Linked DNA regions of Homo sapiens: region 1 is linked to region 2. The links are contacts of gene promoters, found by promoter capture Hi-C in human tissues and cell types (Jung and others, 2019). All regions are on one chromosome and are shown on one strand. Each heading gives the region's core, a stretch centred on a gene start or on the middle of the fragment in contact. The rest is flanking DNA. Distances are from core to core; before and after follow the strand shown.

Region 1 (3,376 bases), core at 487-2,986, 540 kb after region 2:
CGGGCAGGAAGTATTTGAGGGCCCTTGAAGTCACTTGAGGCTGCCAGTTCCTGCCTGGATGTTGGTTGGGCAATAGTGGCGTAGGTACAGCCTCATGGCTGATCCATCTGATCTCATGAGGCTATGGACCATGCCACAGGGAGGCCCTCTGCGGGCCTTGAGACTGGGCTGGCTGCTGAGCCTCAGTTCTTGGGGGGCTGAGGGGCATGGAGAGCACCCAGAGATTCTTTAGGACAGCTGGTGCCCTTCCCACCACCAACCTGTGTCCCAGCATCTTCTCATCCTAGACTTTCCCACGGTCAGGATCCTCCCCAGAAGACAAAGACAGCTCTACTTTTTCAGAGAGACTGACTGCCAAGAAGACGTTAAGAATGACAGAGTGTGAGAAGCTGCGCAACGCCAGCCTTGGCACAGACAGCTACGCCATCCGAGGCCAAAGTGTACCTCTAAGGGAGCCCCAGTGGTTGGACCAAGCTACCGGGTGGCCTCAGAGGACAGCGAGGGGGCTGAAGCCTGAGGAATACCTCTTTCTTCCTGGCTGCCCAGAGCCCTGCCCTCATGCTCACACCACATTCCTGCAAGGAGACATTGCCTTGGTCTGCTAGCCTGGACCCTCTCAGAGTTGGAAGGGCCTTTTAGAGTAAGTGACTTGCTGGACTCAGACCAGGGTGGCAGAAGCAGAATCTGCCTTGGGCACCCCTGGAGTCGTTCCCCCTCTTCGGGCCTCCTTTTGCCCATCTGCACAAAAAGCATGTTGGGCAACCCAGAGCTTTGTGACGGCTACTTCCTCCACTGTGGCAAGCCAAGACCTCCAGCTCTGGGTGGCTGGCTTCAGAATCAGCACAGCGACGCTGTGATCTCATGCTGATTAAGAGCAAGAGATAACAGCATAGGTGGGGCTATGTGGGCCTGGAGTCAGCCCCATCAGGGTTTGAATCCATTTCTGTCACTAGCTAGCCATGTGACTTTAGGCAGGTCACAACTTCTCTGAGTCTTATTTATATGATCTGTAATAATACCTCATAGTGGCATCCTCAGGATCCAGTGAGACAATATGTGTGCAAAACAAGCGTTACAGTTCGCTCTCAACAAATGTTCATTTTGTTCCTTTATCCTTTCCCTCTGATTGGCAGGATATATGTCTTCGATTAATAGAAAATGGCAAAACAAGTTCCTTACCATGTTCCAAGATTAAAAATGTAGAACATGGGAACCTTAAGGAAAAAAATTATGTAAAAGGATACTTGGAGATATAAAGGTGGCCTTGTCAATATATTCATTAAATTTACTCTTGGCCCACCCAGCAATATATATGAATGAGGTATGGATGATCTTGTCCTTTGAAGGAGTCACATCTAGTTGTGGAGATAAACACAGCAGACTGTTACAAAATTATTTTGGCCCAGGCACAGTGGCTCACACCTATAATCCCAACACTTTGGGAGGCCAAGGCAGGAGCATCTCTTGAGCTCAGGAGTTCGAGACCAGGGCAACATAGGGAGGATCTCAAAAATAAAAGAACAAAAATCTCCTTATGTTGTCCTGGGCTTGAACTCCTGGGCAACATAGGGAGATTTTTATTATTGATTTAATTGTTTTTTTCACAGAGTCTCACTCTGTCACCCAGGCTGGAGTACAGTGGCATGATCATGGCTCAATGCAACCTCCACCTCCTGGGCTCAAGCAATTCTGCCACCTCAGCCTCCTGAGTAGCTAGGATGACAGGGGCCTGGGCAACATAGGGAGATCCTGTCTCTATGAAAAATAAAAAATAAAAAAGTGAGCTGGGGTGTGGTGGTGCACCCCTGTAGTCCTAGCCACTCAGGAGGCTGAGATGGGAGGATTGCTCAGGAGGTGGAGGTTACGGTGAGATATGATTGCGCCACTGCACTCCAGCCTGGGCGACAGAGAGCGAGACTCTGTGAAAAAACAAACTAACTAACAAAATGATTTGGCAAAGGCCTGCATGTACAAAACTGAGAACACCAGATTCCGTTTGGGCGTGGTGGTCTGGCAAAGCTTAACAGAGGAGGTGATAATGGAGCTGAGCGCGGAAGGTTGAGAAGGAGTTCCCGTGATGGGTAAGGGCATGCCCGGCAAAGGGAACACCACAGACATGGAGGCATGATGGAGGGTGTGGGGAGCGGAATCAGTGAGCAGCTTGGGCTGCTGTATGGGAAACTGGTGGCCCCTGAGGCCAAGAAGATAGAAGGAGGCCTTGCATTCTCATCCTGAAGACTGTGGGGAGCCACCGAAAGGATTCTTAACAGAAGAGTCAAATGACCACATCTGTGCTTTATAAAGATGACACTGCCACTTGCTATCTTCAGACCTTCATCCCATCTCTTCTGGACTGTTGCAGCAATGCCTAAGTGTTCCCCTCTGATCCCATCTCCAAAAACAGACCAATTTTTAAAATAAAATCAGACCATTTTATGCCCCTGTTTAAAATCTACTTACTGTCACTGGGCGTGGTGGCTCACACCTGTAATCCCAGCACTTTGGGAGGCCAAGGCGGGCGGATCACCTGAGGTCAGGAGTTTGAGACCAGCCTGACCAACGTGGAGAAACCCCGTCTCTACTAAAAATACAAAAAAATTAGCCGGGTGTGGTGGCACATGCCTATAATCCCAGCTACTCAGGAGACTGAGGCATGAGAATCGCTTGAACTTGGAAGGCGGAGGTTGCAGTGAGCTGAGATTGCACCATTGCACTCCAGCCTGGGCAACAAGAGTGAAACTCAGTCTCAACAAAAAAAAAAAGAAAAGAAAAATAAAAAATAAAATCTACTTATTGGGCCGGCACCTGTAATCCCAGCACTTTGGGAGGCTGAGGTGGGAGGATGGCATGAGCCCAGGGGTTCAAGACCAACCCAGACAACACACTGAGATCCTGTATCTACAAAAATAAAATAATTACCTGGGCATGGTGACGTGCACCTGTAGTCTAGCTACTCAGGAAGCTGAGGCGGGAGGATCACTTCGGCCCAGGAGTTCGAGGCTGCAGTGAGCTATGATGGCACCACTGCACTCCATCCTAGGCAACACAGCAAGACTCTGTCTCTAAAACAAATTTAAAAAATTAAATAATATAAATCTACTTATTATATGTGCTCAATAACTGTTTGACGAATAAAAGAATAAATGAATTAGCTGGGCATGGTAGTGCATGTCTATAGTCTCAGCTACCCGGGAGGCTGAGGCAGGAGGATTTCTTGAGCCCAGGAGTTCAAGACCAGCCTAAACAACATAGCAAGACCTGTCACTAAAAAGAAAAGACACGATTAAAAGGCTTATCTGTAATAGTCCCTTCCTCCATGTTTCTGGGTCTGTGGGTCTAAATAAAGCATCTTCTGATTTCCTCTTGATTTCCTTTC
Region 2 (3,272 bases), core at 101-2,600:
TGTTATAAACCTGTTATCATATTGCTGAATCATAGTATTAATTTTTAAAGTTATTTTTAGAAACCATTAAATCTGAATTTAAAGTTCAAAATATCTCAACTGACAGAATAATGACATAGCTGCATTTTGGCATGAACAAGCAGTGACAGCCACGTCACCACCCACGCAGATGCCCAGCAGCTGGCAAGTTCCTTGGAACCACACTGGGAAGATGCATCTTGGTTTCAGAAATGTTAAAATTGGGGAAGAGGGTATGTCTTCAAATGGTGTAAATTTAGTATAATGAGGACTACTGCAGAATAGTAATAGGCAAATTTGGAAACAACTCAAATCCATCATCTCAACCAAACCCTAGAATCTGAGCAGGTGCTTTGACCGTGACCAGGTCCAAAGTATACGGCACTCCAAGAACAGTCGGAGCTACGTGGGAAGGGAGCTGGCCCAACTTTTTGAAGTTTGTTGGAGAAGGATGGGTATGTGACTTATAGGCGTGTGTGTGTGTGTGTGTGTGTGTGTGACTATATGCAGAGACAGGAGCTGCGTGTGTTCTAGGAATTGGAGCTTGTGAGAAATATCCCACCCCTGAATACATAAAAAGTCTTGTTACCAAAGTGCACGAATTTTCGAATCTTACTCGGGAAACAGTTAATGGCTGAGAAGCTTCATATCGAAGATGCCCCACCCTCACAGTGCTCCCAGACATGCCACCCTCGGACTCAAAGACTGCACACAGACTCCTACTCACCACATCGGCCTTGGACCCAGGTAGGACCAGAGACGGGGGCGTGGGAGTGCTCACTCTTGAGGTTTTCAGCGGTAAAGAGTGTCTCTTTAGAGACGGACTGAGTGGTAACAGATATTGTTCCCTCCCGGCCTTTTATAGACAGACCACATCTCCACTCAACGCAATCATTCTCCAAGAAGCGTCCAGCGTTGAGGTCGGCTTCCTTCGGAAGCCCGGAGGACCCTCGGCCTCCGGAGTGGACGAGGGTCTGCTCCACATTCCCATCAAGGGCCCGCCCAGGCGGGTGGGCTTTCCCAGCAGCGCCCCCAGGAGCGAGGCTTTGAGGGCCGGAATGGGAGGGATGCCCTGAGCCGGCGTCTTGCAGACCCCGGGGAGGATACACCTCCCTGGCTGCCGCTTTAACACGGGGCTGGCGGCTGCAGCCAAGCCCACCCAGCCTGGCCTCTTAGGCCGCAGCCGGGTGTCTCGCCTGGCCTCTGCCTCCGGCCGCGCCCTCCCGGCCGCTTGCACCGCCGGCCGCTCTCGCTGCAGCCCTGGCGGTCCCGGGGCCCACCCCACGCGGTCCCGCTGCAGCTGCCACAACCCGCGCGTCTTCCGGCGGGTTGTGAGCCCCGGCCGCCGGCTCCGCCCACAGGGGGCTGCCACGGAGCCCGCCCTCTCCCGGGAAGCAGCGCGCGCCCTCGAACCCGGAAGCTGGAAGCCGCCCGAGCGCGCCCCCGAGGGCCGTCCGGAACCGTGGGTAGCGGCCACCCACCCACGCCGCCCCCCGTTTCCTCACAGCGGTCCTTGGGAGACCTCCTTCAGCCTTTCCGGTGAAGCGCCTTCCCTGTCATTCATTCATTCACTCATTCATTCATTCATTCATTCAGTTATCTATTCTGAGTGTGTAAGATCTACCCCCACATTCTTATTGGCCCTGCGTATACAGCAGTTAACAAAACGCAGTTCCTGCTTTCTTGGAACTTAATTACATTGAAATTAATTGACAATAACAAATAGAAAAATAAATAGATAATACCCCAGGCGATTGTGAGGACCATGAAGAAAAGGAAAGCAGGGTGGGGAGATGATGGGCTAGGATATTTGTATCAACCCACTGTAGAAAACAACAATAAAATTTAAAAATAAAATTCTGGAATACGTGTGTGTGTGTGTGTGTGTGTATGTGTATATATATATACATATATATATAATATATAAATTTGTTTTTGAGACGGAGTTTCGCTCTTGTTGCCCAAGCTGGAGTGCAGTGGCGCGATGTTGGCTCACCGCAACCTCTGCCTCCCGGGTTCAAGTGATTCTCCTGCCTCAGCCTCCAGAGTAGCTGGGATTACAGGCACGCATCACCATGCCTGTAATTTTGTATTTTTAGTAGAGATGGGGTTTCTCCATGCCTGAGCGACAAGAGCAAAACTCCATCTCAAAAAAAAAAAAAAAAGAAGAAGAAGAAGAAGACCCTCCTTACAATAACTGGGACCCCAAAGGGCAACAGCCTCAGGGTGAGGATGAATTGAAAATGGAACAGCTTAAAAGGAATTTACAGACTGCATCAAATTGCCTGTCTCAGACATTATCTTGGTTTAAGACTGTCTCTGACTATGGTGTCACCAGATGCTTGGCAAAAGCAAATAGGTGGAGGAAAGCCTTATAATTGTAGGGCCGACATTTTTCCTACACATAAGTTTTCATAGACAATGTCAAATACAGAATTAAAGATAACCAGGTACACAAAGAAACTAGATTCTTAGTGAGAACCAGCAGAAACACAAACATTGGAAATAGACCTGCAGAAACAACTGCTTTTAGAATTATTTGATGCAAACCGCAAAATAATATTTTCTTGGGCTGGACACAGTGGTTTATGTCTATAATCCCAGCACTTTGGGAGGCCAAGGCAGGTGGATTGCTTGAGCTCGGGAGTTCAAGACCAGCCTGGGCAACATGGCAAAACCCTGTCTCTACAAAATATCAAAAATTAGCCAGGTATGGTGGCACAGCCCTGAAGTCCCAGCTCTTCAAGAGGCTGAGATGGGAGGATCGCTTGAGCCCAGCAGGTTGATGCTGCAGTAAGTCACGATCATACCACTGCCCTTCAGCCTGGGTGACAGAGCAAGACCCTGGCTTAAAACATATGTATATTTTCTTGCTTACCTATTAGAGTTTTTAGGAAAAAAAGTAAAATAAAATCATATTTTCTTTGCCTGAAGAAATAAAAAAGATAACTTGGACAATTTTGGCAGGTACCTAAAAACTATACAAAGTGATAGAGCAGATTTAAAAAAAGAAGTAAATAGACTTCTCTTCTATGATTGAGAAATACAGTAACTAAATTAAGAACTCAGTTAATGGCAGATTAGACACTGCTGAATGTAGAATAAATTGAAAGGAAGGTAGGTCACAAGAAATTATCTAGAATAAAGCATTGAGAAACAAAAAATGTACCCTACAGAAGACAGAGTAAGAGAGATAGAGAATACAGTAAGAGGATCGAACTAAGTTTAACGAGAGATAAAGCTAGGGCAGAGAC

The links. The method cuts DNA at HindIII sites, captures the fragments that hold promoters and counts their contacts. A contact is called where the count stands out against the background at its distance.
Region 1: a contact is called between a fragment that was not itself captured here and the fragment with the promoter of ZFP69 in region 2, in 1 of the 25 tissues and cell types used here (adrenal gland).

The regions. Positions count from the first base shown.
Region 1 is chr1:39,937,864-39,941,239 of GRCh38, reverse strand. No RefSeq gene overlaps it. Among named protein-coding and RNA genes, the nearest start is that of MFSD2A, 16 kb to the left of the region's middle. The HindIII fragment of the contact is 8,075 bases long and covers 1-3,376 here.
Region 2 is chr1:40,475,368-40,478,639 of GRCh38, reverse strand. It overlaps ZFP69 (ZFP69 zinc finger protein), which reads right to left and starts at 1,350. Exons shown (of 6, transcript NM_001320179.2): 1 at 746-1,350. RefSeq lists a silencer at 1,142-1,611. The HindIII fragment of the contact is 19,716 bases long and covers 1-3,272 here.